3 separate regions of the Homo sapiens genome follow, and all the other regions are linked to region 2. Evidence: promoter capture Hi-C in human tissues and cell types (Jung and others, 2019). All regions are on one chromosome and are shown on one strand. The core of a region is centred on a gene start or on the middle of the fragment in contact, and the rest is flanking DNA. Distances in the headings are between cores, read along the strand shown.

Region 1 (4,276 bases), core at 1,267-3,766, 610 kb before region 2:
TCCCAGAGTTTATTATTAATGATGGGTCACACGAGTCTTCTTTGTTAATTGTAATTTGTGCTTACCTCTTGGTGTGTCCATATAAAATATTTTTTACTTTTCTTTATCATTGAAATACTTTGTTACTAGTTCTCTGTCATCAGGCGACATTGCTTTCAACTTTGCTGAAGCCATTAAAATTGGTTCCATCAAACAGCTTATGCCTATCTTGTAAATTCTCAAAACTACTCCATTCTGTTTTTACCCTCTCTGTTCTGTTGCCTGGTCATGTGCTGTTTTGTGTCTTCCAAGTCCTCTTTCTAAAAAGCATGCTTTCTCTTTCTTGTCTTTTTCTATCTTGACCTTTCAAGTTGTTCCTTTCTATTTGTACACTGAAGCTTTAAAGTCACAGACCAATGGTTTCCTCACATTCTTTAGCTAGACTTCATGACATCTGCCCATCTCCTTGGCATAAAACACTTTACTTTTCTGGTTCCACCTTTCTAATCTACTTTAAAATTTTGTTGTTGTTGTTGTTGTTTTTCCTTTTCCCTGCCTTCTAACTTTTGATTTTCTTAATATTCTACCATTGCCTTTTCTTATCAACTTCACCTTGGTAAGACCATCAGTTTAAAAACTAGAATAATAATGTGTTAATGGAACCCCTTTCCCTTACTTATACTTCAAATGTAGGGAGATTTTTTCCTACATTTAGGAAGGATAGAGGTATTCCCCTAAGGGACAATAAAATGTCCAATAATTTATTTAACATTGCCATCTACTTAATCCCAGCCTCTTAAACTAGACCCAGCCCAGAGTGAATTAAACCTCTTTCCTAAGAAAACTTTCTTTTTTGCAATTTGTATTTATATAAATGGCATTACCCTTTTTTACTTTCCTCCACCACTATCATCTAATATGAAAATTTTTGATTCCATCTGTTTCAACAATTGCATTGTTTCAATGCAATTCAATTCTTCAAGCTTAATACAAATGGTTTATGTAATTGTTCTCATGCTATTTGGTGGGAGGAAAACAAAATGTAGTATTGCCACCTCCATAAATACAGGATCAAAAGAAGAATACAACTATTATTGCTGATGATGCAAGGTAGAATGAGTACTGTCACAAAGTGAAGGTGGCAGGAAAAGAATATTCTAACAGCTTGCAAACCCTGCATTTAAATATTTATGTCATTTATCTTTCCTTTATCCAGTTTTCAAATTTTACTTTATTTCAGGACCTAATTACTTCTCACTCAAACTCACACTATGAATTTTCTTACATAGGTCTCATTTCCTCCCATTTCTCTCCTTTTCAATTACCTTCTCAAAATGTATTTTCTTATCTTCTCACTCTGCACAAAACAGTTACAATCATGACTTTCTACAAACTCTCATGGGCTACAACCACACTTCATGTAGAGTTATCTTTAAGGAACCATCCATATTCAATTTGGTATATTACTGTTACTGGAAACAATTGTCTTAAAAACTGGAATACGTTTTGTTTACAATTGTATCATGCACAACACCCAATCTAGCTTTTTATACATAATAGGTTCTTAAAAATATACATTAATTTTCACAGAATTAGGAGTATTTCTAAATTACTGAAAAGGGTCTCATAAAGTTCTTCAACAAAATTAATATTAATTATTTCCATTTAAAATTACCCAGAAAATATGCATTTATTTTTTGTCAAATGTATGTTACACGAACATGATGATAATTATGATAGTAATATCAAACAATAAGATATGATTATTTGCGATTTTATTATATTAGAACTTGCAAATATATAATTCATTTGATCTCCCAAAACATTATTCCATAAACATGCCATGAAAAAAAATGACAGGGCTTGTAGGGGTCAAGGGGCTTAATAAGGATCATTATCTCAGTATGACAGTATGCTGGACCAGGCGCAATGACTCACACCTATAATCTCAGCACTTTGGGAGGCCAAGGCAGGAGAATCACTTGAGCCCAGTTGTTTGGAACCAGCTTGGGCAACATGGCGAAACCCTGTCTCTATAAAAAATACAAAAATTAGCCAGGAGTGGAGGTGTATGCCTGTAGTCCAGCTACTCAAGAGGTTGAGATGACAGAATTGCTTATGCCTGGGAGATCCAGGCTGCAATGAGCTATCATCACACCACTGTACTCCACTGTATGTCTCAAAAAAAAAAAAAATATATATATATATATATATATAAAAGGTTTATCATCTTTTCTCAAATCAAATACCCTTTCTACTAACATTTCCTAACTATTGTACCAAGAAATAAAAGATAGCCTCCTTCATTTTCATTGAATTGCTCTGGGATTCTATTCTACAGAATTAAATAATTTTTGAAAGTATTTATTTTTTATTACACAATGTTATATTTTTTTCTGCACTAATGTTATGAAAAATATTTACTGAGCAGAATTCTTGGTGCTATGGGCTAAATTGTATCCCCCTCAAATTCATTTGTTGACGTCCTAACCCTCAATACCTGAGAATGTGCTTGTATTTGGAGATAGATGCCTTTAAACAGGTAATTAAGTTAAAATAAGGCCATCGCAGTGCACCTTAATCTAACTAAGCTTGAATCTTTATAAGAGGAAATCAGGACACACATGAGACACTAGGGACACGTGTGCATGCAGAAGAGAGACCACATGCATCCACAGAGAAGGTGGCCAAAGAGAGAGGCTTTAGAAGAATCCAACCCTGTCAGCACCTTGATCTTGAACTTCCAGCCTCCAAAACTGACAGAAACTTAATATCTATTGTTTCAGTTACCCAATCTATAATATTCTGTTATAGTAGCCATACCAAAGTAATATAATACACTTGGATAAGAAATAAAATATATTTTCACTGATTACGTTTGAGGTTTGGCGTAAAAGCAAATTTACTGGACTAAATGTTATGCTTTAAGCATTCCAAACAATGATTCAATGAAAAAATTAATGAACAAGATAAGTGTTTAATATACCAAAGATAAAGCTTATTTTTATGGAAAGGTTATATAAATGGAAAGATTTATATAGGAAGGCCAATAAAGAGATTTATTCCCTCAGGGTTATGCATAAGACTGAGTCAACCATCAATTGTTCTTCTTGGCCAAGAATCACACTTAGGCATAGATCCCGAGCTCAATGATTGGACTCTGGCATTTACTCACTTAAATTGTATAATATCAATAAAATTATGCTAATTTATAAATAAGAAGTCCCAAATATATAGCCAAAATAAAGATCACAACTTATAGATTATATATTAATCTTTTATTTGAAGATCAGCATTTTAAAGAACTTCTTTCACAGAGTCTCATATTGTGAATATTTATAAGATTATATGATTGTATGTGTGTATTATGTCTATACACATATATATGTACATATCTTAGAGGGAATTGTGTATATATACTTATATAAATATACATAATATATATACTGCACATATGAAATATTATCCTTCTATTCTAGTCAGTACAAACATAAACCAAAAGATTAAAAATTCAGGAGTAACAAAATATGTAAAAAGAAGTACATGAGAAGCTGCTATTTCTTGACAAGAGTATTAATAAATATAGGCTACTGTTCTCCTGCCACCTACACAAATTAAAAAATATTTTTATGCCAGAAATTAATATTAAAATCTTAATAATTTCCTGGAAATGCAAAAGGAATAGATCCTGCTGTGGACAAAAGAAAGAAAGAAAGAAAAAAAAAATGCACTGGAGAAAGGTGGTGGGGGGGCAGTTTAACTATAACAATATAATGTGAAAAGCTATTCTATATAAATACATTTCTCTCCTTCATAGTAGGCACATTATACTCTGATTCTAAGGAGCTGAAATAACATTAGCTGATCTTTGTATCGAGAAGTGAGAACAAAAACAATGTTGCACTAGAGGGCAGACGGAATGAAGGATGAGCAACAGGTATATATGATGCTTTCACTCCCAAGAATTGAATTGCTTCTGACCCTCTGTGATCATATGGTCATTGTATGGATTTAGTAATTTTAACTTTGAAACATAAATCTTAGAATTAAGCAGGCCTTAAGTGGAGGTATAGAAACATTTTCAAAAGGACATGTTATATTTTAATATAAGGAGGTGTGTGGACAAATGAGACCAGATCATAAAAGCAGTAGATTTGTACTTTGAGGCATCCCCTACCTCACTCTCTAACATCCTAAAAGCTTTATAAGGTATAAACCAGAAACTAGTCTTTTTCTCCCTCCCCTCAGTTTGTTATTATGATCTGAGGTAGATAATGGTTCCAAAAAAAAAAAAAAA
Region 2 (4,225 bases), core at 75-2,574:
GATTAATTTTTAGACACTAAAATAAGTGTATCTTAATTAACAAATTGAAGTGGAATAAATTTACATATCCCAGAACTTTTTTTTTTAAATTTCAGCCTGTGTGATTTTCAATGGGTTTAAATAGGAGAAAACAAACAGATAAGACTTCCAAACATTGCTCAATTCTCTATCACCTTGCTCTTGTGCATTTCAATTTTTTGTTGTTTGTTTGACTCAAAAGTTTTTAAGGCCACTGGAAGTTGATAGGCTGCCTTGGTGGTTACAGGAATAGACTCTATAAAGTTAGAAAGTAATGAACTAAGACAAATCAAGATTGAAATACAATTGCATTTATTTCAGTAACTAAACTGACTAATTAAGACTCAAATGAACCAATCATCTCTCGTGAAATGAAAATAATCATCAATCCATAAGATAATTTCTGATGACAGAATACTTACAGTATGGAGATGAATAAACGATAGAAGATAATCTGTGCATTACCAAAAGGCTACTAATAGTAAGTTTTCTAATATTCCCCATTGCCTAAATTGGAAATTATTCTCTAAGGAGCCTCAGCTCGGTCGTGTTGTTTGGTAAAGAAACTCTATCTCCTTAAAGGTAAAAATATCAGAGGATGTGGTTCGTTAAAAGTTCTTGAGGTTTATGATCCACCCTGGTAACACTGCCCACTCCTTACCCTAATGGGACGCCCTCCAAGTTTTTTCAGAAGCTCTTAATACGGGTGCCGGTTAAAATAAATATACTTCCTCAGCGCAGAACTAAGGAGTAGGGTTAATGGAAGGATGGGTGGGCAGAAGGAGGGATGGGGAGTTCGTCAGACCCGCCGGCAGCCACACAGCTTCTTGCCATCTGTCTCATTCTCTTCGCCTCGCGTGAGTCCCCGTAGCTGAGGCCACTTCCTGACACGTCCACTTCTTAAATCATTTTATGTGGAGAACATAGGCGACTGCAGCCAACAGAGCCACTTGCATGCTTGACGGGAATTGGCTGAGATAAGCCCGACAAAGACTCGCAGTGAATCCGTCCAGCGGGCGCCCCGAGCGCACGGACGTCCGCAGCGCTACTGTTCGCCTTCTTCCTTCTCTCCAGGTGGAAAATGCCCCTCGCCCACCCGCAGTCCCTCCCGTCCTCTTGAAAACAAACACCTCGTGAAGGAGCCCGGAGTGCAGCCCACAGCCGGGGAGTCCTTACCTGGAGCTAGGGGTGAGGTGGGCGGGGAGGGGGTGGGGTGGTCCTCGGGGAGGAGCAGCCGGAGGAGGTCGGGCGGAAAAGTCCCCAGCTACCAGACCGACCAGCGCAGCCGCCGGCGCCGAGCGCGAGTGACGGCAGCGGCGAAGACGGTGACCGAGGAGCAGCAGCGGCGGCGGCGGCGGCAGAGACAGACACGCCTCCTGGCGGGGGTTCCTCGCCTCTTGCTTTAAAGGCGCCGCGCTCCTTTCCCCGTGGCCCCTGCACGCTCCTGGCCGCCGCGGCCACTCGGGGGCATCTCCCACCCCTGGACCACAGGAGCTAGAGCGAGAGAATTCCTGGTGTCCCTAGACTTGGATGTTACGAAGCCTCCGGCTGGACTTCGCTCCCTTAGCGCACACCCGCCTCCTGGGATGGGGAGACTAAGGCCAAGATGCTCTGTCAGGGAGTGAGTGATGCATGCAAAGCGCCGAGGAATTTGCCTAGCCTTGGGTGGTGACAACACATATAAGGAGCCCAAACACATTTGCTTCTGGGTGATGGCTTTTATGCCTCTCCGAAACCATAGCAACGAAACTTCTCCACTGCCAGGGCTTGGAGGGCTGCTGGTAGTCTCCAAAGTGGACCTCTTAGTCCAACTACGGTCATTTCCCTGAGGTTCGCAAAAAAAGATCTTGATCTGCGCACCCTCCCACCCCGACCTCCAGCGCATAGAGCAAATGCGCTCTGGTAGCGCTGCTGCGGGTATTCCCTCAGATGCTGGGAGTCACAGTGCCCTGCTCCCTGCCACCATTATTGAGAACAGATGCTTGGAAATTGACTTTTCCTGAGTGTTAGGAGGTCGGGCGGGCTGTCTCTGTGTATGTATGGCGCCTTAAATAGCAGACTCCCCTCTCCCCACCAAACTCCCGCCCAGGCCCCGGAACTCTCAACCTAAACACATTTCAGAAAGAAGTTGGATTCGAGATCTAGTGGGCGCCGAACCTGAGGTCGCAGACTCCAAGATTGGAGACAGGAGTCTGGGAAGCAGCCCTGGTTTGGCGGCCACTGGTCCAAGTTCTCGGGAGGACTCTTTTAAAGGCCAGAGATGGGGAGGGGCAACTGAGTCCCAGAGTCTTCCCGCAGCTTGGCTTCCAGGGAGGGGCTGGCGGCGGTGAGCGCACCAGGCTCTCCCTGCTTCACTGTGGAAACGATTAGCTTTTGCAAACAATCCCTGAGTTCCGCTCCTCTGGGTCGGAAAAGTCAACATCTATTCAAAACCGTTGCTATTTTATCCTCAGCCCTACAATATTAACTGGAGCTGAGTTTAGCAGTTTCCCCCAGAGGAAGTTGGCCAGCTCAGATTCGCGAGGAGATTTAAGTGAGGCTAAGCGGGAACAGGCCAGGCGCACTGGGCTCAAGAGACCATTTCAAACGGGCTGCATAAAGAAGGGGCCAGGGGGGATTCCACGGCTCTGCAGTCCCCTAGCAGTTCCAGTCCCTGGTGGTTCTCCACTATCTATCTAATTCCGAGGTCCGGGAATTAGAGAGGCTCTGAGTCCCCAGGGACCCGTTGTCTGAGCTGGAGACCAGAACTTGCCCTTTTGCTTCCTCCTTCACTGCAGCCCTAGTAAAGTTAAGCCCTCGCCGGACCCTGGCGCAGCAGGGCCATGTTCCACACCCTGAGGCTAGCGCCTGGCTCAGAATAGCTCTGAAACACAGAAATTCAGTCCTGCCAAAACCGCCAGTCTTTCCCTCTTGGTCACCATCCAGGACTCTCTGCGCCCCGTTCCCCACAACATGCTTACTGAGCATTCCTGGGTGGGGCAGGGTTGGGGGGAGGGGGACTGGGGACTTATGTTAAGGAGAGATGAGTTAGTGGCAATGGAGAGTCCATTAGTCATTTGAAGATCCCAGGGGTGGCTGGGCGGCTCCCTTAATTAAGTCAACAGCAGCCTTGTTCTACCCAGTAAATAAATAGTCAATGACTCTATTGTGCATCCTGGAGCGGGCAGCACAGACGCGTGACCGGTTCTGGGCGCCTGGGCTCCAGCTGCTGTGACCTGCAGCCTAATGGGCCCTCGAGGCACAGCCGAGTTTGGGCCAGGCTCCGAAAAAATGCCCCATTCTGTCCCATTCCTCCATGGGAGTAAGGAAGATAACTTGTCTACTGGCTAAAGACTCTCTCCTTGTCATGATTACATCCACCCACTTCCAGGCAGAAAGGAGCAAAACACCAGCACGAGCAGATTCCAGTGGAAATCCCTGAGTGAAGGCACCCAGCTCTTGTGACAACTCTGAGAGTGTAGAACAGAGTGTGTCTAATTTGACATTAAGTGTTTAGCATAGAGTCTGGCATGCAGTAGGTGCTGGATAAAGAATGGTACTGGGATAGACCTTCCGCTTTCCACACTGTTGCCCCCAGACCCACATTGTACTTGGGAAAGGAGAGGCTTACTAACAACTTCCTGTTAGTGCTGTGTATGATTTGAGAGCCTTGTCACGAATCTATTTTTTTGAAGCAAACAGGACACACTTGTAAAGACAGAAATAACAAGTCCCAACAACAGCATAGGAGAAAATAGGAGAGAGCTGGAGTGTAGAACAAATCAAAATTATGCATGCTGTGACAAATTAATTTTCTCAATAGCAAAATATTATCTAGATTCCAATGAGAAAAACAGACTAACAAGGGAGCATTAGACACCACACAATCTATTTAACCCTTCAAAAATAATTCAATGCTATAAAGAAATATTTTTCATGATTTATTTTAGGATTTAGGAAGTTAAACATTTAAGGAATGAGATCTCAAGTATCTTCTCGGGCAACCATGAAGCTTTTTTTTCTTTTATTTCCAATCACTCTTAAGGTTTAATCTTCTAAAATTTAGAAGGTTGCTAAGTCCTTCAGCTACAGTCTTATGCAGGAACAACATCCCTACTTACTCTCTCTTGCCCGGCTCCCGCCCTCTCTTTCTTCCCTCTCAAAGTGCTCTTAGAACATTAGCAGCTCAATATTTCAATTTCTGAAGACACAGCAAAGACCAGTCTGA
Region 3 (4,517 bases), core at 347-2,846, 630 kb before region 2:
AGATACAGATAAGATACCAGGAAAGACGCAGGAATTGAGACTCAGCCTGGCTCTGTGCATAGCTGCTGTCAAATTTATTAGGAAAGACTCTCCAACACTGTAAATATATACAGTTTTTATTATTTTATTGAGGTCAACTGTACCTCAGTGAAGCTGAAAAAAAATAAGGCAATGTTCCTAATAAGGTGGGTCCTGAGTAGAATAAACGAGGATTTAGAACACTGCCATTGGCTTGACCTCTGGTTTGAAAATATTTATATTAAACACCCATGGGGTCATACTTCCACTGTAAAATATATTGTGTAAGGGGAAAATAAGAAGACTTAGCTAGATTTATTTTTAATAAAGCAAAAAGTTGTTGAACATTCTCAAAGTTAAATAGATTATAGGAACTTGAAACGTAAAAATCAATAAATGGGAGCTGTACAAGTTAAAGAAAAGGAATAAAAATGCACTTAGGATCAGTGATGAGGTAAAAATGAAATTAATCAAATATTTCTATGTTGAATATGAAAGTTGTATGCAAATTGACATAGAAGAAAGGAAATATAAAGTTGCAGTATAAACTAAAGATTATACGTGGAAAACAACCGGCATGTTGAAGGAGCCACCTGTAAATACATTTTGCTCCATCACCTGTAACAATGGCTAGTGTCTTTCAGTGAAGTAGATACTGATCATTGCCAAGGGACCTGATTAAAATCAAACATAAGGACTAAGCTGATCAGCCAAAATGTCCACAGTCTTTGAAGGTCCTCTGGCCACTGTGATGAGAGAAAGTGAAGACTGAGACAGAACACCAGGAAAGACTCAGGAATTGAGACACATCCTTGCCCTGTCCATAGCTGCTGCCAAATTTATTAGGAAATACTCTCCAAAAGAATGTAGTACCTAAGAGAAATATATAAAATAAAAGACAGGTAGTAAGCTAAGCACATCATAAAATAATTTTCTATTAGCAAATAATTGAGGTAACAACAAATTAGAGGATCATAAAGAGCTCACCTTGAGGGTAGCCAAGTAAAAGATAAGAAATAGTTAAAATATTTTTCTTTCCTACACAGTTGAGAGAACCAAAGCTCCTTGCCTTAAAAAAAAGTGAAAATAGATAAAATTCATGGCATCATGATTTTGCAAAAGAATTTTAATTACATAAAACATAAAAAGATTATAACTTACCTGACAAAAATAAAAAAAACGATTTCTTAATTATTATCCTTATAGTTATATTATACAGAGTAATTAGCCAGATAAAGCCAAGAGAATCAATTAAATAATGTCTCAGAGATATTGCATGAAATGCATATCTTAAAAAAAGCACTGTAAGAAAAATGCATTTTTAAGTTTTCGTAAATCATCTTATTTTCCCACTAAACTTATCCTATCTGCCACTAAAAATACTAGAATGTATTTCTATTTTATTCCTCCTTTCCTTAAAGAAACTTATTTTTCTATGTTATATTAGATGGATTTGGGATGTCAATGTTTAGCAATGTTTATTTTATAAAAATGCCGAGGCTTGTAAGCCGATTTGTTTTTTTCTACATCAGCACAAACCAATAAAATCAGTTCAGAAGACACTATCTGCTTATAATAGCAGTTTTCATGGATTGTGAAACATCAACAAAATAATGTATTTTTGTCAAAAATAAACTTTAAAGGAATAAGAAATACACCCCCTTTTAAAATTCACAATTGCCAAATGATTTTGTGTATTAAAAAGAGCATACAATGTAAATATTTAAAATATTTTAAACACACATCTAACAATTTAAAACTTATAGACATTTTAGTTTAGTTTCTGCTAGAACACTAAATAAAGTTTGCAACCTGGAAATTATTTGGCTCTTTGCAAGTCTCAAATGACTAACAAATTTTAGGGTAAATTTCTTTTCTGAATGTTTTAGTGAACTGGTAAAATATCAGTGTAAGAATAGTGCTTTGCAATTTTGTTTTAAATTTCTTCGAAAATATTATGAAAAGCTAATAAGGTAAGGTTTACTCTTGAACCACTTGCATAGATCTTCTTTTCTTTTACTGGGAGCAACATATTTGACAAATATAAAGGTATCTTCTTTTTAAAGATATCTTAGGTACACAAATGGATTCCTCACCTTTGTTCATTTTGTTTGCTGTCAAAAATAAATTAAAATTTAGAAACCATCTTATGCTCATTGAACTTGCTTTTATGAACCTGACTGTCTAAAAGTGATAAGAAAATAACATTATCAATATTTGTGTAACCTCCTAAAGCAAGGATTTAGAATTAACTTTTTAAGTATGTTCTACAGGAAAGGTTTCTCCATGAATGAAATTTAAAACCTTTAACATTAATTTTGTTTTAAATGTCATAACAACAACACATCCACCATGCAAAGAAAATTGAATACTATATTGTAATATGTTTTGTTATACATAATATTAGAAATGTTGACTTCAGCTCAGACACCTTAAAAAGTTAATCAGGTGGTACAACACCCAAAATATCTTGAAGTAATCTGAAAAAGACTTTATTGTTAACAAATTCTATTTCTCTTGAATTAATAAACAGACATTTATAAATAAAAGTTTTACCTCCTAAATAATCTGGCAGAATTAGTTTAACATTGGTGTATAGATTAATACAGTAAAATTGCTAAAAGCAAACTAATTTCTGACTTTTTAAAATTAACAATGTAAATTTTGTGGTATTTGGTACTAACTCAAATTATTCTTTTTCAATAAATTTTACATGACCAATTTTGTTTATAATGCTAACTTAAATATTTGGCTATAGTGCTATAATAATAATTCTTATTTTGTTATGAAAAAGTTACATGTAATAAGCCCTAATGCTCATAGCAAGGTCTCCCTTGGTAAAAGAGATTCTGGCTGAGATTTCCATTTTAATTTTTTATTACAGAAATAAATTACCAACAATACTGGAACATATGTGCTAGGTAAGAACAGCTGAGCCCTATCTGGACTCATCTGACCTTGGTCACTAGGAAATTAGAGTTAATTCAGGGAAACAAGACTGAAGCCATATGTGGTTCATATCAAAGGTGGATCTGAGTCCAGTGCAGTGATCTGAAAAGCATTCAGTTGTTAGTAAACCTGTCAGCCTTGGGATAATTCTGGCAGTGTTATCTCAAGGCATCTGTAATCTCTTAAAACAGGATATTTGAAGGGAAGGACAATGAAACAGAGAGAATTGCTCTTCTCAGTGTTAGTGTGAGTTAATAGAGGAATAAAAGAAATCAGAGTGACTAAGCATAATAGGATAGGCAGCAAGTTTAGTATCATTTGGTGCAGTTAAAGACAGTTATCCTTTTTAGGTAGTTGAAACAGCATTTGATAGTTCATTGTGTACCATTCCAAGTATCTCATAATGAAGGTTCATTGCATATTATCTTTTAAATGAGATGTCTTCAACTTTCCTGATCAAATATTTTCTTTTCTTATAAATAATAGCCATCAAGAATATATTTTACTGTCATGTGGACAAACTGAAATACAATTAAGAAACTTTACCACACTGGGTCAATGAAGGACCTTGGATAAGCCATAATTTCTTTTCCCTACCTAATGTAATAAAAAGCTTCTTTAACAATATCGTGGAAGTATTGTGATAAATAAATGAGAAAACTCATCTAAAGCCATTTTGACAGTCCATAAAGCTCTGTAAAGATAATCAGAATTTATTCTCGTTGCTTGTTTTACATAATCAATCAAAAGAGAAACACAGTACTTGTACATGAGATGACTGTAGCATATACCTACTGTCTTCATATATATATATATATATATATATATATATATATATATATATATGTAAGTGTATATGTATATGCCTTTACCATTAAAATAATTCTTAATTTTTTAAGGATAAGGAAACTTGTTTTCCCCTCTATTGTTATTTAATCACCCTAGTAAGCAAGAATAGAAAAAGCACCCTGAGCTTTTGCTGAGGTAGGAGCTTTAACCAACATGGCCCTTAACGCCAGGCCTTTTCAGGTGAGGAGACTTAGAGGCACAAAAGTTTTAGTTTAAAACTCAACTTATTCTATTTAATAATTCACTAGATTATTCATTCAATCATTTGATCTATCATTCTAATATATATTGACCACCAGCTTGGTATAAATAACCATGCCACGCACTGTGTGTGCGTAGATTTACCAAAAACAAAACATGACCCCTGTCCTGGCAAAGCTTAAAGTCTTATAATGCATTACAAGTACACTGAGAATTAAAACATATCACAATATGAGTATGTATAAAGTAGTTGATGATTATATTAATCATTAATTTACAGCACATTTTAATTAGGGGTACAATTTAATAGAGGGTCTTTGACTATGCTGTTTTCTCTAGCTGGAATGCATTTTCCCTGCATATCCATGTGCCTCGCTTCTCCACTTCCTCTTGATGTTTGCTGATACATTCCTTTTTCCAGAGAATTTCTAATATTTACCCTATTTAAAATTAAAACCCTCGACTCACCATATATATACCTTATCCTCCGTCTATTTTAT

What was found. Contacts are between HindIII fragments. The study calls those that stand out against the background at their distance.
Region 1: a contact is called between a fragment that was not itself captured here and the fragment with the promoter of GRIK2 in region 2, in 1 of the 25 tissues and cell types used here (H1 embryonic stem cells).
Region 3: a fragment that was not itself captured here is called in contact with the fragment with the promoter of GRIK2 in region 2 in 1 of the 25 tissues and cell types used here (dorsolateral prefrontal cortex).

Annotation. Positions count from the first base shown.
Region 1 is chr6:102,004,289-102,008,564 of GRCh38, reverse strand. The region is part of intron 14 of GRIK2 (glutamate ionotropic receptor kainate type subunit 2); the gene reads right to left. Among named protein-coding and RNA genes, the nearest start is that of GRIK2, 610 kb to the right of the region's middle. The HindIII fragment of the contact is 3,691 bases long and covers 671-4,276 here.
Region 2 is chr6:101,390,807-101,395,031 of GRCh38, reverse strand. GRIK2 (glutamate ionotropic receptor kainate type subunit 2) reads right to left here and starts at 1,324. Exons shown (of 17, transcript NM_021956.5): 1 at 1,195-1,324. The HindIII fragment of the contact is 9,322 bases long and covers 1-1,668 here.
Region 3 is chr6:102,025,408-102,029,924 of GRCh38, reverse strand. The region is part of intron 14 of GRIK2 (glutamate ionotropic receptor kainate type subunit 2); the gene reads right to left. Among named protein-coding and RNA genes, the nearest start is that of GRIK2, 630 kb to the right of the region's middle. The HindIII fragment of the contact is 7,258 bases long and covers 1-4,517 here.